Regions from separate parts of the Homo sapiens genome. Here all the other regions are linked to region 6. Evidence: promoter capture Hi-C in 16 types of primary human blood cells and fetal thymus (Javierre and others, 2016). All regions are on one chromosome and are shown on one strand. Each heading gives the region's core, a stretch centred on a gene start or on the middle of the fragment in contact. The rest is flanking DNA. Distances are from core to core; before and after follow the strand shown. Region 1 has its middle 87 kb from the start of ALDH1B1. Region 2 has its middle 1.9 kb from the start of ALDH1B1. Region 3 has its middle 110 kb from the start of ALDH1B1. Region 4 has its middle 3.0 kb from the start of POLR1E. Region 5 overlaps LOC107987065 (a long non-coding RNA gene). Region 6 holds the start of SLC25A51 (solute carrier family 25 member 51). Region 7 overlaps LOC107987065 (a long non-coding RNA gene).

Region 1 (2,700 bases), core at 36-2,535, 400 kb after region 6:
TTCTAATGTAGTTTTCTTTCTATTTCCACCACATATATAGTTACTTCCTCCACTGAATTTTTAAACTCCTCAAAGTCATCCCTGAGGGTGGGAATCAACTTCTTCCAAACTCTTGTCAATGTTGATATTTTCACCTCCTCCCATTAATCATGAGTGTTCTTTTTTTTTTTTTTTTTTTTTTTTTTTTTTTTTTTTTTTTGAGTCAGAGTCTTGCTCTGTCACCCAGGCTGGAGTGCAGGGCTGGAGTGCAGCGGCACGATCTTGGCTCACTGCATGCACCGCCTCCCGGGTTCACGCCATTCTCCTGCCTCAGCCTCCTGTGTAGCTGAGACTACAGGAGCCCACCACCATGCCTGGCAAATTTTTTGTATTTTTGGTAGAGATGGGGTTTCATCGTGTTAGCCAGGAGGGTCTCCATCTCCTGACCTCATGATCCACCTGCCTCGGCCTCCCAAAGTGTTGGGATTACAGGCGTGAGCCACCGCGCCTGGCCCATGCGTGTTCTTACTGGCATCTAGATGATGAATCCTTTTCAGAAGGTTTCAATTCACTTTGCCCAGATCCATCAGAAGAATCACTATCTATGGCATCTATAGCCTTGTGAAAGATATTTCTTAAATAACAAGAATTGAAATTCAAAATTACTCCTTGATCCATGAGCTGCAGAATGGATGTTGGGTTAGGCATGAAAACAACATTCATTTTCTTGTATATCTCCATCAGAGCTCTTGGGTGACCAGGTGCAGAGTCAAGGAGCAGTAATATTTTGAAAGGAATCTTTTCTTGAGGAGTAGGTCTCAACTGTGAACTTAAAATAGTAAACCATGCTGTAAACAGATATGTTGTTATCTAGGCCTTGTTCTTCCATCTAAAGAGCACAGACAGAATAGATTCAGCATGATTCTCAAGGGCCCTAGGATTTTCAGAATGGCAAATGAGCAGTGGCTTCAACTTAAAGTAACCAGCTGTATTAGCCTCTAATGAAAGAGTCAGCTTGTCCTCTGAAGCTTTGAAGCCAGGCATTGACTTCTCCTCTGTGGCTATGAAAGTGTTAGATGGGATCTTCTTCCAGTATAAGGCTGTTTCATCTGCACTGAAAATCTGTTGTATAGCATTGCCACCTTCATCAATGATCTTAGTTAGACCTTCTGGATAACTCTCTGCAGCTTCCATGTCAGCACCTGCTGTTTCAACTTGCATTTTTATGTTATGGAGATCACTTCTTTCACTCAACTTTATGTGCCAACTTCTGCTAGCTTACAATTTTTCTTCTGTAATTTTCTCCCCTTTCTCAGCCTTCACAGAGTTGAAGAGAGTTAAGGCCTTGTCCTGGGTTAGGCTTTGGCTTAAGGAAATCTTGTGGCTGGTTTGATCTTCTATCCAGACCACTCAAGTGTTCTCCTTATCAGCAATAAGGCTCTTTTACTCCTTATTATTCATGTGTTCACTGGAGTAGCACTTCTCATTTCCCTTCAAGAACTTTTCCTTTGCATTCACAACCTGGCTGTTGGCACAAGAGCTCTAGCTTTTGACTGATGTCAGCTTTCGACATGCCTTCCTCACTAAGCTTGATCATTGCTAGCTTTTGATTTCAAAAGAGAGATGTTCATTCAATTCTTCCTTTCACTTGAACATTTAGAGGTCATTATAGGGTTATTAATTGACCTAACTTCAATATGGTTGTGTCTCAGGGAATAGGGAGGCCTGAAGAGAGGGAGAGAGAGAGGGTGAGTGGAGCAGTCAAAACAGTCACACACAGTCAACACACAAAATTCATCAATTAAGTTTGCCATCTTATATAGGTGCAGTTTGTGGTGTCCCAAAACAATTACAATAAAAACATCAAAAATCACTAATCACAGATCACAATTACAGATATATTAATAATGAAAATATTTGAAATTTTGCTAGAAATGCCATCATGTACCATGGAGACACAAAGTGAGCACATGTTGCTTGAAAAATAGTGCCAATAGACTCGCTAGACACAGGGTTGCCACAAACCTTCAGTTTGTTTTTTTTTAAAAAGCAATATTTGTGAAGTGCAATAAAGTGAAGCATAATGAAATGACATATGTCTGTAGTAACACGTGGAGGACAGAGGAGGGGCCAGAAAAGACTGAGAAGTGACATCCAGCAAGGTGGGGAGCTACTGGAGAGCATGTCTTCCTGGAGGTCAAGGGAAGAAAGTCTTTAGAAAAGGGAATGTTTAGTGGTGTCGAATATGGTTGAGAAGTCATGGAAGATGATGCAAAATTTACCATGATCCTTTGAGGTGTGAAAGTTAAAGTGAGGTCATTGCAGGACAGTTCTCTGGGTCGCCTTGGACCAACGCAATTCCTTCCTCTTTTTGCTTGTAATTCTCAAGCATAACTGTAGAATGTGCTGGGAATGCAATATCCTGAGATAGAGAGGAGGCCAGGAGCAGCCTGGGCCTTGTTCCTATCCCTCCTAGGGAATGTAATATCTTGAGTTAGGGAGGAACTGCCTGGGACAGTCCGGGCTCTGTTCCTCTCTCCCCTGGAAGCAGGATGTCCATCAAAGCTTTGCCCAGTGAGTCCTGTTGCCCCTGAGGTCTATAACCCAGAGTGGGCTGCCTTTCGGGGTCTCTCAGGTTTTATGCAAAGTGGGAAACGTGCAGGCAAGACCCTATCTACCCCATGCAGTTATCTTGAGCCTTGGGGTACCAGCTTACAATGA
Region 2 (2,700 bases), core at 48-2,547, 490 kb after region 6:
TTATGCTCAGTGTAGAAGAAACACTCAGTGCAGCTTTCAGTCCTTTTGTTTGGAATCTAGCTGATCTGTACGTCATTCTCAGAGCTGGATTCTTCTTCAGTAACTTCTTAGACATATAAGGCTCTACAACGCTGAAGGATAGAAATTGCTTCTCTTCTCCCACCAGCCCAGTGTAAACACATCCCTGGACGACACTGACCTGACTGTGGCTTGTGTTATCTCACCCTTTCCCCTTCAATCCACACAGGCTCCAGGTCCAATATCCTTACAAAGGGCCTGGATCTTTTTTTGTTAATTAAAAAGCTGAATCCATCACATTCCTGGAAAATAGTCAACCCTCTGCAAAAATAATTTGTGCATTTTACCTTCAGCTACTGCACATTCATTCTTCTCTCCAAACCATAAATGTCAAGCACTGTGGAAGTTTTTTTTTTTTTTTTTTGAGGAGGGGTAAATACCTTGCAACAGGACCACTTTGGTGAGTTCTGATGCCAGTCACAGCTTAGAAAGTGTCAAAGGTGGGCATGCTGGATAGAATCTAGACATAACACATTTGCAGGCAAAGTCACTTTCTGGAAATAACCATGACGGAGTCAAAGACTCCTCAGAAACCACTTAGGCCAGTGCTTCCCAAATATGGTTATATATCAGAAGCATATGAGAAACTTGGCCAGGCGCAGTGGCTCATGCCTGTAATCCCCGCACTTTGGGAGGCTGAGCAGGGCGGATCACTTGAGGTCAGGAGTTTGAGACCAGCCTGGTCAACATAGTGAAACCCCGTCTCTACTAAAAATACAAAAATTAGCTGGCATGGTGGCACGCTCCTGTAGTCCAAGCTACTCAGGAGTCTGAGGCAGGAGACTCACCTGAATTGGGGAGGCGGAGGCGGCAGTGAGCCGAGATGGCACTGTTGTACTCCAGCCTGGGTGACAGAGTAAGACTCCATCTCAAAACAAAACAAAACAAAACAAAACAAAAAAGGAAGCATATGAGAAACTTAACAAAAACTTCTGGGCTCCAACCTACATCTAATAATTTAGACTCTCTGAAGGCAAGGTCCAGGAGATTGTTAAAAAACAAAAACAAAAACACAAACAAACAAAAAAAACTAAGCTCCCCACTCAATTCTGATGTATAGCTAAGTTTGGGAGCCCCTTGTCTAGTTCTTATCTGAACTAGGATTTTGCCACATGGTTATCTGTCCTTCCCTGTACTCCTCCAGTGATGGGAGGCCCACTGCCTTTCAAGGGAGCCCCTCCCAGCCTTAGCCAGTTCTGCTTTTTCTGGGAGTTATTCCTCTGTATTCTTCACTGGTCTGGCTCTGCCTTCTAGGACCCCACAGATCCTATCTGGTTTTGCCCTTCAGAGATTTGGACGGCACAGCCTTGTCTTTCAAGTTCTAAAGGGTGAACATCCCAGTTCCTTCAGCTGCTCCTCAAGGGGCACAGCCTCCAACCTTGCCGCATGGGGGTCACTTCCTGTCTGCAGCTGGCCTCTCAGACCTGCCACAGTTTCCAATGCACTCTAACACGAGGACTGATACTCATTTTGCCATAAACTCACTCCCTCTATCAATGAGGCCTCTTAAGGATTGGTCAGTTAATCATTAAGTCAATCAGTCCTGGAGTGCTATGCCAAGTGCCCAAGGGGAGCTAGGCTGTCCACGTGCTGTGGGGGAGGCAGGAGGGCCTTGGCAAGGGGCTCATGCCGTTGCTGGAGAAACCCGAGGAAAGCATGGGCATCAAGGTGATAAGATGCCAATCATAGTGCCTTCATGGATGGCTAACTTTTGCAGCAAGGGCTGTGAACATGCTAAGGATGATATGGTAGCAAAAGATTCCATAGAGATGTAGCTTAAGGAAAGAACTAAGTGAATTAGGTCCAAGCAGTCGCATGTGAGCACCCTAGATCAGTGGAGAGGCAGGGATTTAATACAAGGAACTGGGTGCTTACAGACCTGCTGCAAGTGCCGGAGGCAGAAGCAAGCCTTAGCCAGACCAGGACCAACTCTCAGGACAATATGGACGTGGCCCACCAGCCTCGTGCCTGTCTGAGGCTACTTCAGACACCCTCCTGCAGCCTCCATTCAAAGAGCAGGAAGCCAGGTCAAGGAGCGGCTACAGCCACAGCGGCCGGTCCACAGCCAGAAAGCTGGAGAAGGGACAAGGAATGCTGCCGCAGAACATCTCCCATTTCTGCTATCCTGCTAGTGCCACCCTACAGGGGCAGGACAATACCCTCCAATGCGTGCCCGCCTTCCACATCCGGCAGAGTACTACTAATTGGCAGCACCTAGTCCACATCCAGAACTCTAACTGCAAATGAGGCTGGGAAACATGGCGGTTAGCTTTGGGACCTCCCTAGCCAGAAGGAAGGTGCAGCGAGGGTGGAGCGAGTGAGATGCATGTTCAGTGGTCCATCTTGGCAACCTTTATAGCAACAAAATGGAGACAATTAAATGTCCAACAGTTTACCCCTACAACAGAATTCTATGCCACCTTGGAGAGGATGATGTCATCTGTAATTAGTGATAGGAGAAAACTTCAAAATACAGCGCTAAGTTTTTAAATTTTTTTTAAAGCAGCACAACAGAGGTTACTATATGATTTTATTTTTATTAAAATAATTTTGAAAGATGCAGAGGAAACAATACTAGCAGGACGAACACCGTAATAATGGCTACCGTAGGTGAAGAGATTA
Region 3 (2,700 bases), core at 118-2,617, 380 kb after region 6:
CCCTGGTTACTCCCCTCCAGCCACCCAGCCATCTCAGTGTTCCTTGAACAGGCCAGCACGTCCTGCCCCAGGGCCTTTGCACCTGCTGTCCTCTGTGTCTGGAAGGCTCTTCCCCTGCATATGTATCTGGCTTACTTCTTCTGCCCATCAGATGAAAGCTCAAATGTCTTCTCTTCAGAGAAATCTTCCTTGACCTCCCCTATTACCCTTCTTCATTCTCCTCACCTTGTTTGTTTTTTGTGATTTTTATTTTTTTTGTTTGAGAGAGGGTCTCGTTCTGTCACCCAGGCTGGAGTGCAGAGGCATGATCATGGCTCACTGTAACCTGGACCTCCCAGGCTCAAGCAAATCTTCCTACCTTTCAGCCTCTGGAGTAACTGAAACAACAAGTGCATGCCACCATGCCAGGCTAATTTTTGTTTGTTTTTGCTGGTAGCACTTATCACTAGCATTTACTAAATTATGCATTTACCTTTCTAAGATGAAGCACTATAAGAGCACAAAAATTTTCTGTCCTCTTCACTGCTGTATGCCTAATACCTAGAACAATGACTGGCATATACTAGGTCTTTGATTCATATTTGCTGCTTGACTGCATTACGGACATGTCTAATCTAGGGGTGTACAATCTTTTGACTTCCCTGGGCCATATTGAAAGACGAAGAATTGTCTTGGGCCACATAAAAATACACTAACACGATAGCTGATGAGCTAAATACAAAACAAAACAAAACAAACAACACAAAAAATTCTTACAATGTTTTAAGAAAGTTTACGAATTTGGGTTGGGCTGCATTCAAAGCCACCCTGGGCTGCATGTGGGCCACGGGTTGGATAACCATTTCAAAAGGATACATGCTTTCTAGCACTTTTCAATGCCAATGGTTGCCAAGATTGAAATCTCCCCTAGCGTTCTCTGCCTCAATTCTACAGGCCAGCAGAATCCTTCTCTGAGGATGGCCCACAAGAATGCAGCCTAGAGGCCTCAGAGTTAGGGCTGAGGCTTGTTGCATTGGTGTGGACTTTTTGGGAAGCTGGTTGCTATAGAAACACCCATTGCCTCCTAGAATGGGCTTCCCATGGCTGCTCAGAGCTCTCTGCATTGCTGGGATCTTCTGAGAGGGAGGCACAAGAGCCAAGGGAGAATATCTTGGGCTTCTAATGCAGTTCATCCTGGGCAAGTCCCCTCACCTAGCTGAGCATCAGTTTCCTCATCTGTAAAATGGGTGTTATCACACATACATCACAGGGCTATAGGGAGGATTCAGTGAAATTATGTATGTAAAGGGCTGGATCCCAGTAGCTGTTCAACAAATTGCACACCTATTCTTGGTTTTATAAAACTCCAAAAAACTTGGAACCTAATTTTATAAAATTCAATCTTTACTTTGAATTTATTCCCATCAAGAGCTGCGGAGGGTCTGAAATTTTTCCTCACTTGCAAGCTACCAGCCACCCTGCTACAGTTTCATGGATGCTGGCAGAAGACATGAGACTCCAGGGCCAGAGACAAAAGACTTTATTACTCATGGTGTTGCAAGCAGCATGGGCTTCATATTTATATCAGTTCTCCTTGCTCCCCAAGGCCCGTGGGGGGATGATGCTGAGCAGCCTGGTGGATGTGGTATGCATAGTGGGTGTGTGTCAAAATTAGGAACTCCAAGTTTAGGAAATCCAAATCTTTCATTATGACCTATAAGCAAAGCTATCTTTGCCTCAGAGGTGAGACATTATTTTTATTATACAGGACAGCAAATAAATCTGCCTTCTGCTTTGGAGGGAAAAATGATCTCTGTCTTCCAGGGTGGCTGCTCACTCTACAAACACCCATGAAAAGATAGTCTGGAAAGAAAGCTATCAGTGCCTCCACTTGTAAGATGTGTGGAAACATGAGAAATCCGTGGAGCATTGTCTCCCAATGAGGTCATGTCCAGGCGAGATCTATAAGGAGTGGGGCAACTGTTAAGAGGCTCGCTCTGCAAAGGAGAGTCTCCTTTCCAGGCTGTTTTGAGTGAGCCTGTGTGGCATGCATTGTGGGCCCTTGCCACTGCCAGCCTCACCTTCCTTAGTGTGGAGGATCCCCAGGTGTGGGAGGGTTCAAATGAAAGGCAAAGCTGAGGATGGGAAGCTGAGTGCCTTGGAACTGCATGGCTTGCTCAGGGGTTTGGTGCATGGCAGTGACCATCTCTGAAGAACATGAATAACCTGCTTGAAGACCAGCGCAGCCTGACTCATGGGGCTCCCCCTTCCTATCTGCCCATCAGCAAGCACAGGCAGCAGTCAGGCAAGACAATACCCAGAGATGAGCTGGCCTGGCCTGGCCCCACTGAAATCTTGCCACCTGCAGGCATGTGTTGGGGGAAACTGCCCACATCACCCTGCTTGAGGAGGGAAAGAGCCCAGGTCCTCTACAATTCACTCAGCAAACATTCAATAGGCACTGACTGTGTGCCCAGTCCTGAGCTACACTGGGAAGAGAAATGCATCAGACTTGGTCCCTGCCCTCCTCAGACTGGTTGGGGGGGACAGACGTGGCTGGACATAGGCATTAAAACACAGGGTACTAAGAGCCACATTGGAAGTGGGCAAGGAGGAGACATTTCTTTGGGGGAGGGCATTTCAGAGTTGAGTCTTGAGGGATGAATGGCCAGGCATGGGAAGGGGAGGCGGAGCACAGGGAGGGCCCAATGGCACAAATGG
Region 4 (2,700 bases), core at 53-2,552, 420 kb before region 6:
GTATGGGACCCTGAAGGATCCAGATATACTGGCATATGTCTAGCAGAGGTGACCAGGAAGAGGAGGGACCTAGAAACTTTGGTATGTGAGGGATAATTTTGGCTGGGAGAGGAGAGGAACAGATACATGGAAAGCATGATAGACGTCTCCAGGCTTTTGAAGGGCACAGGCAAGAAGAGCTGATTGTGTTCTGCATGACCCCGGAATGAAGAACTGGAGCTATAGGGAGAAGCTACAGAAGGTAGAGTCAGCTCCATGTAAGGAAAAAACCTGTTCAAGGTGAGAAGTCCACCTTTTAAGGAGTGAGTCATCCATGTGTGTAGGTATGCAAAGAGGGTCTGCATCAGGGATATGAAGGAAAGGAATGGGAATGACCAGAGGAGAGAACAAGAGAGTGAGACAAACACAGAGGGAGAAAGGAAGGGAGGAAAAAGAGAAGCAGAGGGACAAGAAAGGAAGAGAAGAGGTGAGACAGAAGAAGCTATTCTCGGCCGGGCGCGGTGGCTCACGCCTGTAATACCAACACTTTGGGAGGCTGAGGCAGGGGATCACGAGGTCAGGAGTTCAAGAGCAGCCCGACCAACATGGTGAAGCCCCATCTCTACTAAAAATACAAAAATTAGCCGGGCATGGTGATGCACGCCTGTAATCCCAGCTACTCAGGAGGCTGAGGCAGGAGAATTGCTTGAATCCGGGAGGCAGAGGTTGCAGTTAGCCGAGATCGCGCCACTACACTCCAGCCTGGGTGACAGAGCGAGACTCTGTCTCCAAAAAAAAAAAAAAAAAAAAAAAAAGAAGCCATTCCCCAGAGTACAGGGCGAGTCACTGCAAACAGTATGGAATCTGACTCGCCTTTTCAGGTCTTTGTTAGTGTTATCCTGAAACACCAGCAGATGGAGATATTACCCCAGGAAAGGAGGACTTTGCTTTTCTCCCTCTCCTTTTGCCCTCTGGAAAACCATTTTCCTTCTCTGAAAAATGATACTAAAAGAGAACTCCAGGTGTCTCTGAATTATTTCCAAACTAAATTTCCAAAAAAAATTATGTGGTAAATTTTGCCTGTGATTATCCACGATTTGAATATAAAAGAGGCCACCTGGCCAGGTGTGGTGGCTCACGCCTGTAATCCCAACACCTAGGGAGGCTGAGGCAGGTGGATCACTTGAGGTCAGGGGTTCGAGACCAGCCTGGCCAACATGGTGAAACCCTGTCTCTAACAAAACTACAAAAATTAGCCGGGCGTGGTGGTGGGCACCTGTAATCCTGGCTACTCAGGAGGCTGAGGCAGGAGAACTGCTTGGACCCAGGAGGCGGAGGTTGCAGTGAGCCCAGATCACACCACTGCACTCCAGCCTGGGCGACAAGAGTGAGACTCCGCCTCAAAAAAATAAATAAATAATTAAATAAAATAAAAAAATAAAAGAGGCCACTATAGGTTTTTGCATTTTGGTTAATGCCTATGTAGGGCTCCCTCCATCCTGCCCCATCCCACCTCCATCCTGCCCCATCCCAGTTACACAGGCACGTATGTATATGTACATGGTGTGTATAGGTGTGTCTTTTGAATAACTGTTAAATAATTAAACAACACAGGGGTATACTATGATCCCCTTCCCAGCTGCCTGACCATCAACACTTTGCTTCCACGGATAGAATCTCCGTCATTTGGAATTCTTGCCTGTGGTAATTCTAGGAGTTTTTGCTTCAGTGGGTGTGTTGTACTCTTCACTCTTTGTCCTCGCTACAAAACAGTCAATCCAGGGGACTTGCACATAATCTGTCTGACTGGCAAATATGTGCCTTAAAGGGGAATCAGTCCGGTATAACAGTGATTCCTAAACTTCAAGTGCACATGAATCACCTGCAGATCCTGTTGCAGAAGATTTGATAGGGTTGGAGATCCTATATTTCTAACAAGTTCCCAGGTGCTGTCGAGGCTGCTGTTTCCATGGACCACACTTTGAGTAACAAGGCCATACAATGTGTTCCTATATCATGAGTAACAAGGCCATATAATGTGTTCCTATATCACAAGATACTTCTCTTAAGAACTATACTTGGCTCATTGTAGCCACTGTTATCTTGGTCACCTTTAACTTTGATTTAACTGTTCATATTTTCATTCAACCAAAAAACATTTATAGAGTCTGTTATGTGTAAACCCTATGCTAGTTGATTTCAACCAATATTACCAAACATCTTTGAGTTCCAGTCCCTGTGCTAGGCTTCCAAGATTAGTGATAATTCAGGCCCATTCTTTGCCCTGTCATTCATTAATTCATTCCATATTTATTGAGGGTCTAGTATGTTCAGGATTTGGAGATAAAGCAGTGATCAAAACAAACATAAATTTGTTTATTAACCTCCAAAGTGTTTATTGTGAACCCCAAGTAAGTTTAGTGAGGAAACAATCAATGGGTGAGACAATCACACAATTAAGCTCTTCTTTCTTCATCCTTCTTTCTTCTTTCTTCTTCTTCCCTTTTCCTTTCCTGAACAATTCAATCCAAAATCATGAGGTGGGGTCAAGCAAGGTAGCCTTCTAAGGGAGGAAAGGCTATGAGAGCTAAATGCAACACATGATTCTTGACAGGACATTTTTGCTATAAAAACATGATTGGGCCAGCTGCAATGGCTCACGCCTGTAATCCCAGAACTTTGGGAGGCCAAGGTGGGAGGATCACTTGAGCCCAGGAGTCT
Region 5 (2,700 bases), core at 190-2,689, 420 kb after region 6:
AAAAATAGCTATAGCTATAATAATTTATTAATGGACATACAATACATAAAACATAAATTGTGACATCAATAGCATAAAATTTGGGAGGGAGGAGAATTTAAAGTGTAAAGATTTTGTGAGCAGTCAAAGATAAGTTGTTATAAACTTAAAATAAACTGTTATAACTATAGCAGCTTTATGTAAGCCTCATAATAACCACCAAGGAAAAAAACTAGTAGACACACTAAAGAGAAAGAGAAACAACTCAATAGCACGAAAACAATGCAACTAAAAAATGGACAGAGGACCTGAAACATCTCTCAAAAGAAGACATACAAATGGCCAACAGGTATATGAAAAAATGCTCAAAACTACTAATCATCAGGGAAATGAAAATTAAAACCACAATGAGATATTACCTTGTTCCAGTTAGAAAGCCCATTATAAAAAAGACAAAAAATAAAAAGTGTTGGCACGGATATGGAGAAAAGGAGACCCTTGTATGCTGTTGGTAGGAATGTAAATTAGTACAGCCATTATGAAAAACAGTATGGAGGGTCTCCCTCTCCCTCTCCCTCTCCCTCTCCCTCTCCGTCTCCCTCTCCCCACGGTCTCCCTCTCCCTCTCTTTCCACGGTCTCCCTCTCATGCTGAGCCGCAGCTGGACTGTACTGCTGCCATCTCGGCTCACTGCAACCTCCCTGCCTGATTCTCCTGACTCAGCCTGCCGAGTGCCTGCGATTGCAGGCTCGCGCCGCCACGCCTGACTGGTTTTGGTGGAGACGGGGTTTCGCTGTGTTGGCCAGGCCGGTCTCCAGCCCCTAACCGCAAGTGATCCGCCGGCCTCGGCCTCCAGAGGTGCCGGGATTGCAGGCGGAGTCTCGTTCACTCAGTGCTCGGTGGTGCCCAGGCTGGAGTGCAGTGGCGTGATCTCGGCTTGCTACAACCTCCACCTCCCAGCCGCCTGCCTTTGCCTCCCAAAGTGCGGAGATTACAGCCTCTGCCCGGCCACCACCCCGTCTGGGAAGTGAGGAGCGTCTCTGCCTGGCCGCCCATCGTCTGGGATGTGGGGAGTCCCTCTGCCTGGCTGCCCAGTCTGGGAGGTGAGGAGCGTCTCCGCCCGGCCGCCATCCCATCTAGGAGGTGAGGAGCGCCTCTTCCCGGCCGCCATCACATCTAGGAAGTGAGGAGCGTCTCTGCCCGGCCGCCCATCGTCTGAGATGTGGGGAGCGCCTCTGCCCCGCTGCCCCATCTGGGATGTGAGGAGCACCTCTGCCCGGCCGCGACCCCGTCTGGGAGGTGAGGAGCATCTCTGCCCGGCTGCCCCGTCTGAGAAGTGAGGAGACCCTCTGCCCGGCAACCGCCCCGTCTGAGAAGTGAGGAGCCCCTCCGCCCAGCAGCCGCCCCGTCTGGGAAGTGAGGAGCGTCTCCGCCCGGCAGCCACCCCGTCCGGGAGGGAGGTGGGGGCGTCAGCCCCCCGCCCAGCCAGCCGCCCCGTCCGGGAGGGAGGTGGGGGGGTCAGCGCCCAGCCCGGCCAGCCGCCCAGTCCGGGAAGGAGGTGGGGGGGGCAGCCCCCCGCCCGGCCAGCCGCCCCGTCCGGGAGGGAGGTGGGGGCGTCAGCCCCCCGCCCGGCCAGCCGCCCTTCCAGGAGGGTGGTGGGGGGGTCAGCCCCCCACCCGGCCAGCCGCCCCGTCCGGGAGGTGAGGGGCGCCTCTGCCCAGCCGCCCCTACTGGGAAGTGAGGAGCCCCTCTGCCCGGCCAGCCGCCCCGTCCGGGAGGGAGGTGGGGGGGCAGCCCCCCGCCCGGCCAGCCGCCCCGTCCGGGAGGTGAGGGGCGCCTCTGCCTGGCCGCCCCTACTGGGAAGTGAGGAGCCCCTCTGCCCGGCCAGCCGCCCTGTCCGGGAGGGAGGTGGGGGGGGTCAGCCCCCCGCCCGGCCAGCCGCCCCGTCCAGGAGGTGAGGGGCGCCTCTGCCCGGCCGCCCCTACTGGGAAGTGAGGAGCCCCTCTGCCCGGCCACCACCCCGTCTGGGAGGTGTGCCCAACAGCTCATTGAGAACGGGCCAGGATGACAATGGCGGCTTTGTGGAATAGAAAGGCGGGAAAGGTGGGGAAAAGATTGAGAAATCGGATGGTTGCCGTGTCTGTGTAGAAAGAAGTAGACATGGGAGACTTTTCATTTTGTTCTGTACTAAGAAAACTTCTGCCTTGGGATCCTGTTGATCTGTGACCTTACCCCCAACCCTGTGCTCTCTGAAACATGTGCTGTGTCCACTCAGGGTTAAATGGATTAAGGGCGGTGCAAGACGTGCTTTGTTAAACAGATGCTTGAAGGCAGCATGCTCGTTAAGAGTCATCACCATTCCCTAATCTCAAGTACCCAGGGACACAAACACTGCGGAAGGCCGCAGGGTCCTCTGCCTAGGAAAACCAGAGACCTTTGTTCACTTGTTTATGTGCTGACCTTCCCTCCACTATTGTCCTATGACCCTGCCAAATCCCCCTCTGTGAGAAACACCCAAGAATTATCAATAAAAAATAAATTAATTAAAAAAAAAAACGAAAAAAAAAAAACAGTATGGAGGTTCCTAAAAAAATTAAAAATAGAACCACCACATGACCCAGCAACCCCACTTCTGGGTCTACAGCCAAAGGAAATGAAATCAGTATGCTGAAGAGGCATCTGCACTTTCATGTTCATTGCAGCATTATTCACAATAGCCAAA
Region 6 (2,700 bases), core at 138-2,637:
AACTTGATTTTCAAGCAACTACAAGTGTCAAGCTTCTGTGACTAAGAAAACAGTGTAAAGTCTAAAACCTTATTATAATTTACAGCCTACATGGATCAGCATGATACAGATATGATCCTAGCACAAAGGTCTCTGCAAAAACTGGGGAGAGGGTGACTCCAATTCTCAAAGGATGTGAATTTCCACTAGTCAGCAGGTCTGAGTCAGCATTCAGAACAAGATCAGCCTGGGTCTAGTCCTAGTTACGACACTAGCTTGCCAATATAAAGACAAAGCAATATCTGATTTTAAAATCCACTGATCTGAGTTTGCTTTCATTTACCAAACGAGAGATCAGATGAGTCAACTCCTAGCTTGTTTTCCCCTGAGATGCGCTAAGGGTGATTCCAGTTCCAAAGCGGTAACCTGTGCTCTAAACCACTATGGGACCTCAAGAGTCCTAGCACCTTTTGATCCTATGGAATCCTTTCAAAGCACGGGCAGAGGCGGCTCAAAATGGCAAGGTCACTATACATTTCAAGGGCTTCTGTTTCAGAGATTACAAGTAGAGAAAAACAGAAGGTGGGAATTAAGATCAGCTAGGTAGAGCTGTGAGATGCAAAACAAAGGTTTTGCAGGAAGTTGAGGTGCTGACATACTCCATCTAGCTAAACTGAACACCAAATAATGGATGGAGACTAACACCACCAACACCATCGTCCCCGAAAATCCTTGTACAAGTGAGCTTCCTACAACGCGATGCAATATGCTGTCGCAGAACAAGCACTGCCAGGCTATGTAGCTGAACTTACCGTTCTCCAGGCGTCCATTTCCCCAACCTGTGAAAGGCGGGGAGGGGGTTGGACAAGATCACTAAGTCCTCTTCCGTTTCTGACACTTCACAGTCAGGGGTCCCGAGGTGAGGCCGAAATCCCAGTCTCCCGGGACGCAGAGGCCCTTGCGCGGTGCCATCCCCGCTGTCCCCCGGGCGCAGGCAGCTCCCGGCTCCTCCCCGCCCCTGCGGTTCCTGTGCACCAGGGAGGTGCCTCCCCAGCCCAGGGCGCGCCCGAATGAAGGGACAGCGCCTTCGCGGGAAAGGTCGCCCAGCAGCCGGACAAACACCCGCGGCAGGCGGGGGAGCCCGGAGCCGAGGAGGCTCAGAACTGATTCCGCCCGCGCCGCCTGGGTGGGGCCCGCAGGGACCGGGCCAGGGCAGCCGGAGCGCGCAGAAGACAGGGATGGGCCCCCAGGGCGGCAGCCTGCCCCAGCGGGCCCTTCAGCGCGTTTCCCCTCCCTCCAACCTCATGCGAAGAAAGCCCGGTGCTTCCCCACGCTCGTCCCACACTCACCCATCAGCGCCGGCGTCCCGCAGGACGGCTAGCGAGCCGGGGCCCGCGCAGGCGCAGACTGTGACCGACCCCGAGGTTGGGGCGCAGCGCGACGCGCTGGGCGCTGTTGGGGTCACGTGAGGGAGACACCGCCCCGCCCCGCCTCCCCTCCCTCGGCCCGCGGCCCGCCAGATGTCGCCAGCCTACTTCTCCTGGCCGCAGGCCGCCGCGGCGGGGCAGGTAGAGGGCCACGCCAGCACACCTGTCAGGATGCGGGCTCCGCTAGCCACCATGCTTCACCCTTGATGCCGTACGGTGGCCTCAGCGTGCCAGAAACAGCCAACGCGTTCTCTAGCGCGCTGCCTGCAGGGGGCGTCTGGGCATTGTCGGTTTTAGGGGCCTTGTCGGTTCTGCGGGGCGAGCGCCTTCGCGGAAAACTCCAAAGTACCCTCTGTGGAGCCTTGTTGAGTATCTTCAAACCTTCAGAGGGACCTTTTATCAGCGACCCATGCCGCAGTTTACAGAAGAACGCTTTGTGCGTGCTTTGGGACGTATGGATCACTTTTAAACTTTTTCCTTTGAAGCTCAGACAGCTTGCGGGGGGCTTGGGAGGAGCGCTGCCCGGGGAGTTAGAAGGCTTGGGTCAAAGTCATAGCCCTCATACTTCTTGAGAGTGACCTTGGGTGAGTCGCTGGACCCTGAGCCCCAAATCTCCGTCTGAAAAGTAACCCATGCCTTGTATGCGTCCTCGGGCTGTTGCAGGAGTCTTTGGAAATGATGGTTCTGACTCTGAGTTGGAAACTGGAACGCACACAACAGATGGGAGGCGTTGAAGGAAACAGAAAGGTCGGCCTGAGGGGAGAGGCGTTTCAGGAGGCTTGCGGATGTGTGAAGTGTGCGCACTGTGCTTGGGGCGAGCCCAAGCAGTAACCCCACCCGAGTGAAGCGTTCTTGGGGGGATCGGCTCCGGGTGGGCGACGTTCCCCGCGTGCCCCCTTCCCCCGAGAGCACTTTGTAGACACTGACTCCAAAAGCGGGTCTGGTCTCTGCCCAGCCCCACTTTGGCTGGCGTGCTTAGGTGCCTCTCGGGAAGCTGGAGACCACCCTCCCCCATTCCAGCAAACGCTCCATTGAGGAACCTACTGCGTGCCAGGTCCTGGGGAGCTTAGCGTCTGATGAAGGATACAACAACAAAAGACTGGAAATTCAGAAGCATGAGGGGACCTCCCCCCTCGAGGGAGAACCAGAGATGGCTTCACAGAGCAGACGTTTGAACTGGGCCTTGGAGGATGGATGAGTGGAATTTGGCCCAGTGGAGAAAGTCATAGCAGCAGGAGATAAGATTGTAAGGGTCAGGTGGTGGGGCTGGATAATGCGAATCTTGACTGTCAGA
Region 7 (2,700 bases), core at 191-2,690, 440 kb after region 6:
TCCCAGTCTCTGTGGGCCTGGGATCAGGCATGACTTAGCGATATCTTCTATGTCATCTGATGACAGATGCAGCCTCTTCTGTGAGGCTGCAATGGAGGTGTCAGCCCAGGGTCTGTGGTCTCATCTGATGATGCCTGGGGGAGGGATCTCCTTCCAATCTCATTCATGCGATTGTTGATGAGATTTAATTCTTTGGATGTTGTTGCACTGAGGACCTAAGTTCCTCTCTAACTGTTGGCCAGAGACCCCCACTCAGTTCCTTGTCATGTGGACCACTCCAACATGGCAGCTTGCTTGATCAAAGTGTGCAAACCAAGAAGGCAAGAGGCAGGGGGAGGGGGAGACAGAGAGAGACTGTTAGCAAGAAGGAATTCACAGTCTTTCGTATTAATAGCCCAGTCATGGAAGTGGCACCCATCTCATTTGCTATGTGTCTGTATCCATTAGAAACAAGTCACTAGATCCACCCCAGACTCCCACCATAACAAGGGCATAGTTACTAGCAGGTGGGGATTACTGGAGACAATCTTAGAAGTCTGCTGACTACAGCAGGGAGCTCAGCTGGAGTCTAGTGTGTGCAGCTCTGAGTCTGGCCCTGTCCTCCTGGAACTGGGAATGTGCTGGCCCAGTGGACCGATGTAGCAGGTGGCAACCTTCCCCTCGTCCATCCTCTAGGAAGCTCTCAGGAAGAGAGAGGCGGCCCCACTTTAATTACATATCTCCCCCAGGGAAGCCTCTGCTGCCTGTGTTCTTCTCTGGGTAGTTTTGTTCCCCCTTTACTGCCAGCCCTGCTTTAAATCAAAGCTGCTGCCTGTTCAAGGGCTCCCAGCCCCAGGCAGGAAGAGGATTTATGAGTGGGTGATCCAGAAATGTAATATAAAGGAGTCAGGACCCAGGCAGTAATGGAAATGGAGAGGTCCTGGCGAGCGAGACAGGCGGCCAGGGCCCACTGACCTCTCAGGCCCAGCAACCACCCTGCCTCTGCCTTTATGAAAAGCTTCCATCATCCTTCCCTTCTGCCTACCCCACTCTCCCTCCTTGCTGCCTGCACTACAGCTCCCATCCATAGCCAGAACCCAGGTCACCTGCATCCACCTGAATCTGCCTTTCTAGAGCTGCTTCCTCTGTCTCTCCATCTCCTGTCTCCCCTTCTCCCCTTCCCAAATCTGCCTGGGCTCAGTCTACACTGATGGACTTCTGTCTCCAGGCCTTTGCTCAGGCTGTTTCTCCTGGAATTGTCCTTTCCCCATGTCCCTGTGAGCAAACCTCCTTGAGGGTTCCTTCCCTGACCTGTCCCTCTGTCCCTCTCTCATGGCACTGAGCATGGTGAGCCTAATATTGGAACCCATTCTCTCCCCCATCAGATGGAAACTTCTTTAAAAATAGGGGCTGGGGCTGGAAGCCACCATGGTTCTGCCACTAGCTGGCACGTGGGAGGTGCTCATTGATAATGGGATAATGGAAAGGAAGGTCCAGTTCAGAATCACCTCTGAGTGCAAAAAACCCCCGAACTCTCCTTTTACTCATTCTATGTGGCGGCAAGTGGCTGCTCATCCCCTGCTCCTGCCCGCTACTGCCTTCTGCTCTCTTCCCTGAGACACCTCTCCTGTGACAGGTCCTGGGTCTGCCTGGGTACAGCACCTAGCCCTGCCACATACAACATGCTTGCAGCCTCCCACCTGCATCTTACCCGGAGCAAAGCCCTCCTTCCCAGCCACAGATGCCCAAAGGGACACAGACTTTTGTGCTCAGAAAACTACCACCCCCGCCCCAACCACACTCTCCACCTGACCCACTTGCACCTCCAAGGGCCTGCTTGTGTGGCCTGAGGATCATCCCTGACTACCTGTTCTCTCTCACCCCTCCCCCCAGTCCATGTTCTGTAAGCTTTTCCTTCTGTTGAAGGTGATTTTCACATGTGCATCTTTCCCCACCCTAACAGCCACTGCCCTGTCCAGGCCATAGCCCTTCCACATTGTTCTCCCTGCCTCCACCTCACCCTACTCATTCTATTCTCCACCCCAAGGACCAGGGCCGTTATCCTTATCAAAACTTTCGGTGCTCTCCATGGGCTGAGAAACCAGGCTCATGCTCTTCAGCTGACAATCAAGCCCTCTGCCATCCGGCTGGCCTGGGACTTCTCTGGCCTTATTCCCCATTTCCCCAGCATCTCCACCCATACTCTTCAGGGCCACTCACACGGGCCCACCTCCTATTCTCCAGTACCCCTGGTTCTCTCCCACCTCCGAGCCTTGGGTCATGTGGTCCCTTCACTTGGAAACACTCTTCCTCCTCATCTCTGCCCATCTAATCTACTGTCCTTCCAGGACAGCCCAAAGGCCATCTCCTCCATGAAGTCCTCTCTGACTACCTTCCAGAAGGCAGGGACCTCTCAGTCCTCTGAGCTCCTATGACCCACACAAAAAGCATCCGTGTCTGGCCACCCTTCACCCCAATTAGGCTTTCTGGGTGCAAGGACCCTGTCTCATTTCCCCTCTTCCAAACCCCACCCCCTGCTGCTGCCTCTTCTATGGAGACAAAGACAAAGGCATCCCTTGGGGGAGGGGAGCCGTCTTGAAATCTCTGGGAGGCGCCTGACAGCTCAGTCCTACTGAGAAGAAAGCGGCCCAGAAGGCTGCACTCCCAGGGAGGGGTTCTCACCAGAAGGCCCCGCGCTGGGCCTGAGCCAGGGAGTGTTTG

What was found. The method cuts DNA at HindIII sites, captures the fragments that hold promoters and counts their contacts. A CHiCAGO score of 5 or more calls a contact.
Region 1: a contact is called between a fragment that was not itself captured here and the fragment with the promoter of SLC25A51 in region 6, in 1 of 17 cell types (endothelial precursors). The highest score is 7.4, in endothelial precursors.
Region 2: a fragment that was not itself captured here is called in contact with the fragment with the promoter of SLC25A51 in region 6 in 16 of 17 cell types (monocytes, endothelial precursors, megakaryocytes and 13 more); the score reaches 30.3 in monocytes.
Region 3: a contact is called between a fragment that was not itself captured here and the fragment with the promoter of SLC25A51 in region 6, in 2 of 17 cell types (endothelial precursors and M1 macrophages). The highest score is 6.8, in endothelial precursors.
Region 4: a fragment that was not itself captured here is called in contact with the fragment with the promoter of SLC25A51 in region 6 in 7 of 17 cell types (megakaryocytes, endothelial precursors, M2 macrophages and 4 more); the score reaches 15.0 in megakaryocytes.
Region 5: a fragment that was not itself captured here is called in contact with the fragment with the promoter of SLC25A51 in region 6 in 4 of 17 cell types (endothelial precursors, megakaryocytes, M2 macrophages and 1 more); the score reaches 10.4 in endothelial precursors.
Region 7: a fragment that was not itself captured here is called in contact with the fragment with the promoter of SLC25A51 in region 6 in 5 of 17 cell types (endothelial precursors, megakaryocytes, M0 macrophages and 2 more); the score reaches 13.9 in endothelial precursors.

Annotation. Positions count from the first base shown.
Region 1 is chr9:38,304,369-38,307,068 of GRCh38, forward strand. No RefSeq gene overlaps it. Among named protein-coding and RNA genes, the nearest start is that of ALDH1B1, 87 kb to the right of the region's middle. The HindIII fragment of the contact is 560 bases long and covers 1,006-1,565 here.
Region 2 is chr9:38,389,410-38,392,109 of GRCh38, forward strand. No RefSeq gene overlaps it. Among named protein-coding and RNA genes, the nearest start is that of ALDH1B1, 1.9 kb to the right of the region's middle. The HindIII fragment of the contact is 2,895 bases long and covers 1-2,700 here.
Region 3 is chr9:38,285,370-38,288,069 of GRCh38, forward strand. No RefSeq gene overlaps it. Among named protein-coding and RNA genes, the nearest start is that of ALDH1B1, 110 kb to the right of the region's middle. The HindIII fragment of the contact is 5,634 bases long and covers 1-2,700 here.
Region 4 is chr9:37,481,614-37,484,313 of GRCh38, forward strand. No RefSeq gene overlaps it. Among named protein-coding and RNA genes, the nearest start is that of POLR1E, 3.0 kb to the right of the region's middle. The HindIII fragment of the contact is 5,664 bases long and covers 1-2,700 here.
Region 5 is chr9:38,323,454-38,326,153 of GRCh38, forward strand. The region is part of intron 1 of LOC107987065 (a long non-coding RNA gene); the gene reads left to right. Among named protein-coding and RNA genes, the nearest start is that of ALDH1B1, 68 kb to the right of the region's middle. RefSeq lists an enhancer at 2,082-2,591. The HindIII fragment of the contact is 8,409 bases long and covers 1-2,700 here.
Region 6 is chr9:37,902,740-37,905,439 of GRCh38, forward strand. It overlaps SLC25A51 (solute carrier family 25 member 51), which reads right to left and starts at 1,388. Exons shown (of 3, transcript NM_033412.4): 1 at 1,329-1,388. It also overlaps the pseudogene PAICSP1. RefSeq lists a silencer at 829-1,588. The HindIII fragment of the contact is 4,581 bases long and covers 31-2,700 here.
Region 7 is chr9:38,344,349-38,347,048 of GRCh38, forward strand. All of the region lies in intron 1 of LOC107987065 (a long non-coding RNA gene), which reads left to right. Among named protein-coding and RNA genes, the nearest start is that of ALDH1B1, 47 kb to the right of the region's middle. The HindIII fragment of the contact is 890 bases long and covers 996-1,885 here.